4 separate regions of the Homo sapiens genome follow, and regions 1, 2 and 4 are each linked to region 3. The links are contacts of gene promoters, found by promoter capture Hi-C in human tissues and cell types (Jung and others, 2019). All regions are on one chromosome and are shown on one strand. The core of a region is centred on a gene start or on the middle of the fragment in contact, and the rest is flanking DNA. Distances in the headings are between cores, read along the strand shown. Region 1 overlaps UBE3C (ubiquitin protein ligase E3C). Region 2 overlaps UBE3C (ubiquitin protein ligase E3C). Region 3 holds the start of MNX1 (motor neuron and pancreas homeobox 1). Region 4 overlaps UBE3C (ubiquitin protein ligase E3C).

Evidence for each region. Contacts are between HindIII fragments. The study calls those that stand out against the background at their distance.
Region 1: a contact is called between a fragment that was not itself captured here and the fragment with the promoter of MNX1 in region 3, in 2 of the 25 tissues and cell types used here (dorsolateral prefrontal cortex and neural progenitor cells).
Region 2: a contact is called between a fragment that was not itself captured here and the fragment with the promoter of MNX1 in region 3, in 2 of the 25 tissues and cell types used here (H1 embryonic stem cells and adrenal gland).
Region 4: a fragment that was not itself captured here is called in contact with the fragment with the promoter of MNX1 in region 3 in 2 of the 25 tissues and cell types used here (H1 embryonic stem cells and pancreas).

The regions. Positions count from the first base shown.
Region 1 is chr7:157,182,252-157,185,210 of GRCh38, reverse strand. UBE3C (ubiquitin protein ligase E3C) reads right to left here. Exons shown (of 23, transcript NM_014671.3): 8 at 2,883-2,959; 9 at 1,182-1,333. Among named protein-coding and RNA genes, the nearest start is that of UBE3C, 45 kb to the right of the region's middle. The HindIII fragment of the contact is 6,873 bases long and covers 1-2,959 here.
Region 2 is chr7:157,210,118-157,213,066 of GRCh38, reverse strand. All of the region lies in intron 13 of UBE3C (ubiquitin protein ligase E3C), which reads right to left. Among named protein-coding and RNA genes, the nearest start is that of UBE3C, 73 kb to the right of the region's middle. The HindIII fragment of the contact is 4,795 bases long and covers 1-2,949 here.
Region 3 is chr7:157,009,376-157,012,075 of GRCh38, reverse strand. MNX1 (motor neuron and pancreas homeobox 1) reads left to right here and starts at 1,413. Exons shown (of 3, transcript NM_005515.4): 1 at 1,413-2,416. The coding sequence starts at 1,726. It overlaps MNX1-AS1 (MNX1 antisense RNA 1 (head to head)), which reads right to left and starts at 1,219. Exons shown (of 2, transcript NR_038835.1): 1 at 769-1,219. RefSeq lists silencers at 1,002-1,611, 2,122-2,191, 2,202-2,251. The HindIII fragment of the contact is 12,613 bases long and covers 1-2,700 here.
Region 4 is chr7:157,147,005-157,149,959 of GRCh38, reverse strand. The region is part of intron 1 of UBE3C (ubiquitin protein ligase E3C); the gene reads right to left. Among named protein-coding and RNA genes, the nearest start is that of UBE3C, 9.6 kb to the right of the region's middle. The HindIII fragment of the contact is 9,344 bases long and covers 1-2,955 here.

The sequences.
Region 1 (2,959 bases), core at 206-2,705, 170 kb before region 3:
GAAAAACCTGTCCTCTCTCTCGCTGAGAAAGCCCACAGCCTCATCTTCACATGAATACAAAATACACTGCATATAAATAAGGGTTTAATTTCACAAATTCTATGGGAGGTGACTATTTAATAACTTTCTTCCAAAAACAAAAATTTATCTACATTCCATCTACAGAACCCACTCTTTTTTATAAACATACAAAAAAATGAATACTTGTTGGTGTACAGTTTGGACAGATGCAACAGTTCCAGCATCCACTGTCCACTATAAAAACGGCTTCACTCCTTTGTCATCAGCCCACCCCTCAGCCATGAGCCCTGGCAGTGAATATCTTCTGTTCCTTTCTTTGTCTTCTCTTATTTTTTAAAAAAAATCAAGCCCTGAGCTGACTTATCGATCCTTTTCTTATTGCTGTGATCTCTTTCATTCGATACTAGTGAAGCTCTTTGTCCAGGAAGGTGCAGCACTGCACTGACACACCCACTTCACAATATTCTAAAAATTTACTTCACCTGGAAGCCCTGAGACCCTCTCAAGTATATTCTGTGATTACACTTAGTAGTAATCAATATAAAACTCCTTAATGAAAAAATAACAACTTATGATAGCCATACCTCAAGCCATTTCAATTGCTTAAGACCAAAAAAAGTCATTGGCGGTTAAATTCTTTAAGTAAAACACAAATTATGTATGCATGTATATATAATTTTAAAGTTTTTTATTCCCTGAAAATATACTGTAAACTCAATAGTAAGGAAGAAAAGAGATAAGAACTTGAAAGTAATTTTTAAGTAAATAACATTTATCCTCTATAAAATCAGCAGGAATTAATGGAAGACACTACCCGGTGTTCACAGGATAGGGTAAAAAGGATCTTTTTGACCCAACAATTTCACTTCCAGAAAATATTTCCTAATAACTAAGTTAACATATAGTATGATCCTATTTTGCCTAAAAAACCAAACACAAAGCTATGTGTCTCCATTTACACTTCCATGAACGTGCTAACAAAGCGGTGGGAGAGACTTTCCCATCACTAGAAACTGTGGTAGTGGGGCTGACGGGGCTTCTCTGCAAAGGCTGCTTGAGGGTCTGACTTGTGTAACTGAAACTACGGGTGGACAGAAAGCTAGAAGATCCGACGGGGCTGCCTGCATCGCAGCCCCCCAGATGCAGGGCACGGGGCTTACCGGGCTTGAGGGCTTGTCGGCTTCTTCACTCTCCTCCTCAGAGTCACTGGCTGAGTCGTGACAGCTCGCGCTGGCAGGAGAGACTGGTAACTGAGAGAGGAAGGTCTGCAGCACCCGCAAATACACCAGCAGCCCTTCCTCAGAGAGGGCCCCTTTGCAAAACAATCAGTTAAAACGTATTTTAGTTAAACATTATTTTTTAAAATGGAAAACGAAGACGCCATTTTTCCTCACACGCAGAGAGGCATTTCTGACCAGATCTTATTTTTAAAATTCTAACTGTGTTATAATAGGAAACATATTTAGATTTTGTCCCCGTTCATGTCAGAAAGCACCTACAACTCTTGTAATTTCTTGAAAGATAAAGAGTCTCTTGTTATTCATAGCCAGCCCTTTGTGATCATACTTGAGGTGACTTATGGTGAGGCCATCTAGGGGACTCAGAATGGGGCTTTTCACCAGAAAAACCAAGTGATCAGAGGGTTGGAACTTTCAGCCCCACGCACCAACTTCCAAGGGGCTGTCTGTGGGAGGGACACTGGAGAAGAAGCACCATAAAACTCAACAGGAAGACACAATGAGCTCAACACAGGGAGGTGCCGAGAGTGTGGAGTGCCTGGAGAAGGCATGGAAGCTCCCCATTCCCGCACACCTCGACTTCCCGAGTTCTGTGAACTGTCTTAGTCAATTACCAATCCCAAGGAGGGGCTGAGGAACCCCCATTTTTGCAGGTTGGTCAGAAGTATAGGTGACAACCTACTACTTGTAATCGGCCTCTGAAGTGGGTGTAGTCTTGCAGGACTAAGCCCTCAGATGATGGGATCTGACATTATCTCCGGGTGGACGGCATCAGAATTGAACTGAATTGTAGAATACCTAGTTGGTGTCCACTGAAGAATTGCTTGGTGTGTGGGAAAAAAAACCCCACATTTCTGCTCACAGAATTTTTCAGTGTTGAGTGAGAGAGTAAGAAAAACAGTTTGGGCTGGGCACAGGGGCTCAAGCCTGTAATCCCAGCACTGTGGGAAGCCGAGGCGGGTGGATCACGAGGTCAAGAGATTGAGACCATCCTGGCCAACATAGTGAAACCCCGTCTCTACTAAAAATACAAAAATTAGCTGGGTGTGGTGGCGTGCACCTGTAGTCCCAGCTACTCAGGAGGCTGAGGCAGGAGAATCACTTGAACCCGGGAGGCGGAGGTTGCAGTGAGCTGAGATGGAGCCACTGCACTCCAGCCTAGTGACAGAGCGAGACTCTATATACCCCCCCGCACCCAACCCCCAAAAGTTTGGTTTTCACATTTTCCTATATTTCTTTCATGAATAATTCATGCATGTATGTATGTATGTATGTTTTCAAACATACTACAGGAAGATGTTATTCTAGAAGAGGCACACTGGAAATTTAGCAGAGGGAGGGAAACAGGCCTGACTCACAGAAGAGCTTTCCCATTTAACTCTGTTAACTCTATTAAAATAATCTGTGTGGCCTCATAAGACACATATATATGTCAGTCTTTTCCACTGTATCTGGAAACTGTCCCCAGGAACACACTGCCCAGACCACATCCCTCCAGCAAATACACTCCTCCAGGAGAGGCCCACCTTTCCATAACACCTGCCACTGCATGGCCTTCTCTTGACTCATCTGCCAATGCTACCCATATGTGTGTTCAGGTAAAAAAGATCTTGTATTTCATACCCAAATAATTTTCGCCAACAGTTAAAACGAAATAGAAAAGCCAGGGTGCTCCACCACTCTTTCTTGAACATCTACTC
Region 2 (2,949 bases), core at 116-2,615, 200 kb before region 3:
TGCACACACTGCCGGGCGTGGTGGCTCACACCTGTAATCCTAGCATTTTGGGAGGCCGAGGCAGGCAGATCACTCGAGCCTAGGAGTTCAAGACCAGCCTGGGTAACATGGTGAAACCCTATCTCTACAAAAAATACAAAAATTAGCCGGGTGTGGTGGCACATGCCTGTAGTCCCAGCTACTCAGGAGGCCGAGGTGAAAGAATCACTTGAGCCTGGGGGGTGGAGGTTGCAGTGAGATCGAGCCACTGTACTCCAGCTTGGGCAACAGAACGAAACCCTGTCTCAAAAAGAAAAACAAAAAACAAAAAAACCCCACAAAGGTACACAACTGTTACACATGCTCTATTATGTGCCATTTGAATGAAAAATAGGTGATGCTGTAAGCAGGTTTCCCTTAACCCCAATATTAAAAAGATCAAGTAGATAACTGCTTAGAAACATACCAACTCCTTATAAAAATCACACTTGACAACTGTTCAAGGTAAACATTGTAAATTAACAGGCACTGTTTTCACAAGATCGCTATGTTTGAGAGTTCATGGCAATGATGATCATAAGAAAATCTTGCTTAACTGACCTTGGGGAAATATTCTTACGCACTAGCTATATTATCACAAATGTATATATAAATTAGATGACAAGGCTATTAATCCTAAATTGTGACATTTCTGTATGGAGATGACGGATATTTAGATATAGTATTGCAACCAAAAAATTAAGTACATATAGTCCAAGTTTTGAAGGGCAACTGAAAGACTAAATTGCATCATAACATAAAATAAAAGTATCTTTTTTATCTTAAATGTGATATGTAAAATCTGGTAACTAAAACCAAACAACTGAGTTAATTTTTTTTTTTCTTTCTACAGTAGATCTAGTCCTGAAACCAGATGAGTTAGTTCTTTAAAAAGCAAAATACAAAGCATACTTAGCATACAATTTCCAGGTTCTGAAGTGCAATAAATGTGCAATGTGGGAAATACATCAAATGAGAATGGATTTTTACAATTTGACTTCATAAGAAGAATATATAAAAGTAACATGTCAGAAAAAGCTCTAAGAACATGACCTCGTTGGAAAACAACCGTTTTCCTCAAGTGAGTCAAGTGCCAGATGACGCAGCAGCTGGTGCTTCTCTCCTGTGTGCTTCCACAGGACCGGCCTCTGTGGTTTGCTGTTTCCCACTGTCATTAGCTGAATGCATGTCTCCTTCACTACGTGGTGATACTGCAGGAACAGGCACCCTGTGTGAATTCATTTATGATCCCTTAGCATAGAGCTGTGTCACTATGGGTGGGATGAATACTGTGAGTGTTCAAATAACTGAGAATAAAACACTCTAACCTATGAAAGTCATGAAGTATCTGGTATGCACTGCTGCTGTCAAGGGTTAACCAAATTTTATATAGCCCTTAGTTACCACTTGTTAACCCATTTATGCCTAGTGTTCCATTACTGGAACGCTAAGCTTGTGGGATTTATATTCTACTGCTCAAGGTCATTGCCAAGGCCTGATTTTTCACACAAAAAATTCGCAACCTCTGGCACAAACGGGTTAAAAACTGGAGTATTTTGAAAAACAGTATTCTTCAGCACATATTTAAAACACTATAAAATTACTGCATATAGCATCCACTTTAGTAGTCAAAAAACAAAAACAAAATCAATCAAAATCTTCAATAACAGAAAAGGATAAGGCACAGCGCTACAAGCTTTGGATCTCTTGGTTGTAACATAGTCAAATGGTCGCATGTTAGGATTATATTAACAGGGCACTGCTGTTGCTTTATTACTTTTTAAAAATAGCTTTTTGGAACTGAAAAAATACAACTTAACCACTAAGGAAGTAAAAAAATCACTCATAGTATGGCTCTCTCTCTCTCTCTCTCTCTCTCTCCAGACATATGGATAATGAGGGCATGGGAACCTTCCTCCTCATTCCCTGCCACTTCCTCCTGTTTCCCTATCACAGGAGGAAACTCCTGTTAAGTTTGGTGGATGCACACAGACATCTCAAAACAGGATTTCCTATCTCATCAAGCTAAAGTAATTATAGCTCTAAATTACACTTCAAGAGGAGTTTATAAATTTGATAAATGCATAAACTGTTTTAGCAGTGTCAAGACAGGGCTTAGAAAGTGACCTCAATTCTTACAGTGACAAAGAAAGATGACTCTATCCACTTAAAATTCTATGCTCTGTGACCAGCCAGCAGAGCCTCTCACACAAATGACTTTGGGAGGACCATGATAGGACTGAAAAATGAAAATGGTCGGTGTTGAAGGAGTCAGGTCTCATCGTTTGCAATTCTGTCAAAATCAATGGAAGGCAGGAGATCATGGGCTAAACGCTTCTGCGTTCTTTGGTTGATTCTACCTCGAATTCTTCAACTCAAATTTGGCACAACAATAATATGAAAAATGCTGATACAATTTGTATTCTTTTCAGAAGGGGAGTGTAGAATAGCAGCTGGTTCTACCATCATATACATGACCTCATCTGTAAAACAAATTATAGTATCTTTCTCACAGAACTATTGTATTAAATGAATATATGCAAAACTCTTAGAATACTGCCTAAAACACAGTTAACTACAGAGGTGTAAGTTCATACAACTTCATAATAGAGATAGTATTTTCTTAAAAGAACAGCTAACAGCAGCTGATTACTCAAAAATTATGCAGTGATTTTTATTTTGGGGGCTCAGCTCAATAGCAGGTAGCATAAAATGGTTTGGGGGACAGGTGACCAAAGAACAGAAATCCTTTAAAAAAAAAAAGGTCTTTAAACAATTCTAAACTCAAAAGGTCTTACAACAACTTGATTTCAAACCTAAAACAATCACCACCACCAACAAAAAAAAGGTAAATTTTCACCCTCTTTTTTTTTGGAGAGAGAGTCACCCTACCGCCCAGGCTGGAGTGCAGTGGCGCTATCTCGGCTGACT
Region 3 (2,700 bases), core at 164-2,663:
TATATTTGCCTTTTTAAAAATCCCTCTTGTAGCAACCTGGCGTGCTAATTTTGAAGTTTACCTGGCACTGAGTTTCTCTTTGGCTCTCTCCCCTCTCCACAGCCCCTTCCGGTCCTTTATTCACCTCTCACCTGCATAGCAAGCCCTGGAACCTGGAACTCCCTCCCAGTTCTCACGCTTGCTGGGGAAGATAACTGGGTCTAATGGCGCTATTGACAAAGCCTGGTGTTGATGCCGCTTGACTTCCCGACCCCTGTGTGGATTCTTTCAGCTTCAAAAACGCCCTTGGAAGTGGTTTTACTGTAAATATTTGAAGTGTGCGTGTGGGGGAGGGGTGAGACCTGGATGCTCACTCCGTGCCTCGCTCACTCACGGGAAGCCCTTTCCTCTCCACTTCCCAGGAGGCCCCGGCAGCACGAGAGACATAGCCTTTCCCCGCTCCTGCCCGGGGACTGGCCGGGGGTCGCAGCGGCAGGGCTTCCGAAGGATGCCGGGCCCCACGGGTTTTTCAGGGCCGAGGTGTGTGGGCCTTGACTCCCGCAAGCCCATGGGCATCCCTCGGCAGCGAGGAAGAGCCTTGTCACCGAGGACCCGCTCCACTGAGCAGGCACGTGGGCGACGTCTGCAAGCCGACTTGGGTTCTGCAGGCCAGAGCGCCCAGATCTACCGTCTCCGCCTTGACTGGGGCAGGGGCTCCCAGAGAGGATTCGTGGAGGCCAAACTCACACTCACATGCGCGTTTACACCCCCACACCCCCGCACACACACCTGAAAATGCGGGGCCTTCCCATAGCAGATAAGGTTCGACCTGCAGAGCTTTGGCCACGGGGACAAAACCCTCCCCTGCTGCGCCCTGGAGGCCCGAGAGCAGGGAGGGCTTGGGAAACACCACGGTCTTCAGTGCGCTGCCGTCGCCTCGCAGAGCGGCCAGGTCTGCGCAGCGTGGGCGCTCAGGAGCGTGGAACCACCGCGCTCCGCAAGGCAGACGTGGACCCACTCCAGCGCCGACAAGGAGGCCGGAGAGGACGCGCGCAGCTGGCTCCAGGGACCAACCAAGTCCGGAGGGGCCCACGTGTCTCGGGAGCGGGTCTTGGGCCGCCGCGGGGCTCTCCAGGGGCCCGGGGGTTGCCAGTGCCCGCCGTCCGGCTCCGCACCCAGGGGAGGGCGGGCAGAGGCCCCAGGTTGAGCCTCGGAGTATCCACTCCCCGTTGGTGTCCCCGCCCGCCAGCGCCGCGCAACAGCCCGGGCTGCTTAGGACCTCGCGGCGCGGGGGCGGGGCGGCGGGCGGCCGGGACGGTGACAGGTGCGCCCCTCGGCCAATGGCGGAGCCCGCGGCCCTCCCCGGGCCCCCGCTGCGCGCGCCAATCGGAAGCCGCGCTGAGCTTCAAGTGCGCGGAGGGGCGCGGGTCCCCACCACGGCGGCAGCGGCCTCCGCGCGGTCGCCTGAGGGCTGCAGCGCAAAGAACCGGGCTCCCGGGCCCGGACGCGGGGAAGCACTCGCGTGGGAGTTTGTGCGAGCGCGGCCCGGGGCGGGGCCCGCACGGAGGAGGCGCCGGGACCATGGTCACCCTCGGCTGAGTTTCCGGCGGCGACTTTGATTATTGGCAAATAACCACCATAACAATACCGAGCCCCCGGGCTTGCACCGCACGCACTGACTCCGCGAGCCCGCACACGGCCGCGTCGCCCGCCACCGGGCCCTGAGCGCCAGCCCCAAACGAGCCGATGGAAAAATCCAAAAATTTCCGCATCGACGCCCTGCTGGCGGTGGACCCCCCACGAGCCGCCTCTGCGCAGAGCGCGCCGCTGGCCTTGGTCACGTCGCTCGCCGCCGCCGCATCTGGCACCGGAGGTGGCGGCGGCGGCGGCGGGGCGAGCGGCGGGACTAGCGGCAGCTGCAGCCCCGCGTCCTCGGAGCCGCCGGCTGCGCCCGCCGACCGCCTGCGCGCCGAGAGCCCGTCGCCGCCGCGCCTGCTGGCCGCGCACTGCGCGCTGCTGCCCAAGCCGGGCTTCCTGGGCGCGGGCGGCGGCGGCGGCGGCACGGGCGGCGGGCACGGGGGGCCCCACCACCACGCGCATCCGGGCGCAGCGGCCGCTGCCGCCGCCGCCGCCGCCGCCGCCGCCGCTGGGGGCCTGGCGCTGGGGCTGCACCCTGGGGGCGCGCAGGGCGGCGCGGGCCTCCCGGCGCAGGCGGCGCTCTACGGCCACCCGGTCTACGGCTACTCCGCGGCGGCGGCGGCGGCTGCGCTGGCGGGCCAGCACCCGGCGCTCTCCTACTCGTACCCGCAGGTGCAAGGCGCGCACCCCGCGCACCCCGCCGACCCCATCAAGCTGGGCGCCGGCACCTTCCAGCTGGACCAGTGGCTGCGCGCGTCCACCGCGGGCATGATCCTGCCTAAGATGCCCGACTTCAACTGTGAGTACCCTGCGGCCCCCGTGGATGCGCGTGGCGGGAGGGCCTCGCGCATCCTCCACCGGCACCGCCTGCCCCTCTCTGCGCTTGGCTCCCAGCGAGCGGGGGAAGAGCTGCGAAGCCGCCTCGGCTCTGCCCGGGGCCTGCGAGGACTCGCCCGGACCCCCAGGCATGAGACGGGCAGCGAATTATTAAAATGGCCATGCGCAGGCCTTGCCTTCTCTTCCTCTCTTAACGGGAAGGGGCAGTTGGAGGTGTGAGACTGAGATCTAATGATTAACCCGAAG
Region 4 (2,955 bases), core at 4-2,503, 140 kb before region 3:
CTTCTCCTTCATGCTGACAAATGGTAAAGGGCGGCATTTGGAGGCCTGAGACAGGAGAACAAGGACATGCAGAAAGCAGCTGCTTTAAAGGCAGTAAAAAACAGGGGTCACAGTCAAAGAATAAGATGCCCCACTTCCAAATTCCTAGGTGCCTACATTCTATAATAGAAGAATTAAAGAAAAGTCACAGAGTGAAGCTCCTTACAGCTTTTGCAAGAACTTCTTTTGAGGCTATTCTATGGTCTTATGAGACCATCTATTTTTTCAACCTTTTAAGGACCCTAGCTGGCAATTCACACTGTAACTCAAGAAAATCAGCACACATTCAAGTGGTTAAAGCCAAGTAGGGGATATCATGAGGCAAGCCAGATGCTTAAGGCACAAATTTAAGGAGGCACTCACTCTCAGGGATGTGCCAGTGCAGGGTCCGCCTGTGCATGAACCTGAGAGTAAGTGCCTCCTTAAATACTGTATGGTGCTTTACTCACCTCCCTGTAGGCCCAGATTTAATGTCCAAAGAAAATGAGACAATGAGACAATTAGTCTCAAGTCTCACTCCTTCCATTCCGCTTGGTTTCTATTTTTAAAAATCGGTTGAATTCCTGGCCAGGCATAGTGGCTCACGCCTGTAATCCCAGCACTTTGGGAGGCTGAGGTGGGTGGATCACCTGAGGTCAGGAATTCGAGACCAGCCTGACCAAGATGGTGAAACCCATCTCTACTAAAAATAGAAAAATTAGCTGGGTGTGGTGGCAGGCACCTGTAATCCCAGCTACTCCGGAGGCAGAGGCAGGAGAATTGCTTGAACCTGGCAGGCGGAGGTTGCAGTGAGCCGAGATTGAGCCATTGCACTCCAGCCTGGGCGACAAGAGCAAAACTCTATCTCAAAAAACAAAAAAAGAATTCTTAACCTTATCTATAGCAGGGAACTACAGTCTTTTGCTCCTACATGTAAAGGATACAGCATAACTGTATTCGAAGGAACAAATGCAGTGTTGCTAAATAATACCAGTCCTGACAGTCAATTAACATTTTCAGAGCCAGGCTGGGGTTGGGTAGTGGCAAGCCTGGAGTTCCAGCTCCTCAGGAGGCTGAGGCAGGAGAATCGCTGGAGATCAGGAGTTTGAGGCTGCTGTGCACTATGATCATGCCTGTGAATAGCTACTGCACTCCAGCCTGGGCGACACAGTGAGGCCCTGTCTCTTAAAGGAAAAAAAAAAAAAAAAAAGAACTAATTTGATCTTAGAAAATATTTTGACTTTATTTGATGCCAGATCTGTAAGAAAAAGTTTTTATGTTCCACTACAATGTATATGGAGCATTATACTATCACATCCATTACACCTCTGCTTTTTAAAACAAAATAGCACAAAACATTTTAAGTTAAAATATTCTAGGTAATCCCTTCAATTATATAATAGAGGGCAGTTTTACAAAACTAGGTAATCCCTTCAATTATATAATAGAGGGCAGTTTTACAAAACTAAGCAATCAAGTTCTTACCATCTTAACAGTCTAGACCTATCATAGGGGAGGAATTAAAACTAGAGTAATTGAGGCCAAGCATGGTGGCTCACACCTGTAATCCCAGCACATTGGGAAGCTGAGGTGGGCAGATCACTTGAGGCCAGGAGTTCAAGGCCAGTATGGACAACATGGCGAAACCCCATCTCTACTAAAAATACAAAAAAATTAGCCAGGCCTGGTGGTGGGCGCCTGTAAGCCCAGCTACTTGGGAGGCTGAGACAGGAGAATCACTTGAATTCGGGAGATGGAGGTGGCAGTGAGATCGCACCACTGTACTCCAGGCACTCCAGCCTAGGCGACAGAGGGAGACTCTGTCTCAAAAAAACAAAATAAAACAAAAAAACTATAGTAATTGGTTTTGGTAGGCCCTAGAGTATCCTCATTCCATAAGGCCAGTATCACCCTAATACCAAACCAGACAAAGACATCACAAAAACACCCTAAATTGATGTCCCTCATCAAAAGAGATGCAAAAATCCTGAACAAAATATCAACAAGCTCAATCTAACATCGTATACAAAGAATTATGCATCACAGTCAAGTGGGATTTATTCCAGATACGCAAGACGGGCTCAATATTCTAAAATGACTTAATGTGATCCATCATATCCACAAGCTGCAGAAGGAAAATCACATAACATTAACAGATACAGAAAAAGCATCTGACAAAACCCAACCTTCATTCATGATAAAATTCTGCAAACTAGGAATAGAGGGGAATTTCCCCAATTTGATAAAGAATATCTACCAAAAAACCCACCAAACATCATACTTCATGATGAGAAACTCAAAGCTTTCCCACTAAGATTAAGAACAAGGCAAGTTCTCACCACTCCTTTTCAACTATAATCCTACCTAATGCAGTAAGACAATAAAACACATTGCTTTCTGATGGTCTTAGAAAAGAAAAAAGAAAAAAAAGGCATACAGATCAGGAAGGAAGAAATAAAACTGTCTTTGGTTGCAAATGAAATGATTATCTGTGCAGGAAATTCCAAGTATCAACCAAAAAACCACTCCTGGAACTAAGAAGTGATTATAGCAAGATTTCAGGACATAAGGTTAGTACATGAAAGTCAATTGCTTCTCTACAAATAAGCAATGAACTGGAATTTGAAACTGAAACACAATACCATTCACATTAGCACCCCTTAAAAATAAACGCTTAGGTATAAATCTAACAAAATAGGTATAAGGTATATATAAGGAAAATTATATAACCAATGAAAGAAATAAAAGAACTAAACAAATTAAGAGATATTCCATATTCATGGATAGGAAGGCTCAACACTGTCAAGATTTTAGTTTTTCCCAACTTGATCTACCAATTCAGCACAATCCCAATCAAAATTCCACAGGTTTTTTTTGTGAATATCAACAAACTGACTCTTATGGAGAGGCAAAAGATCCACAATAGCCAACACAATA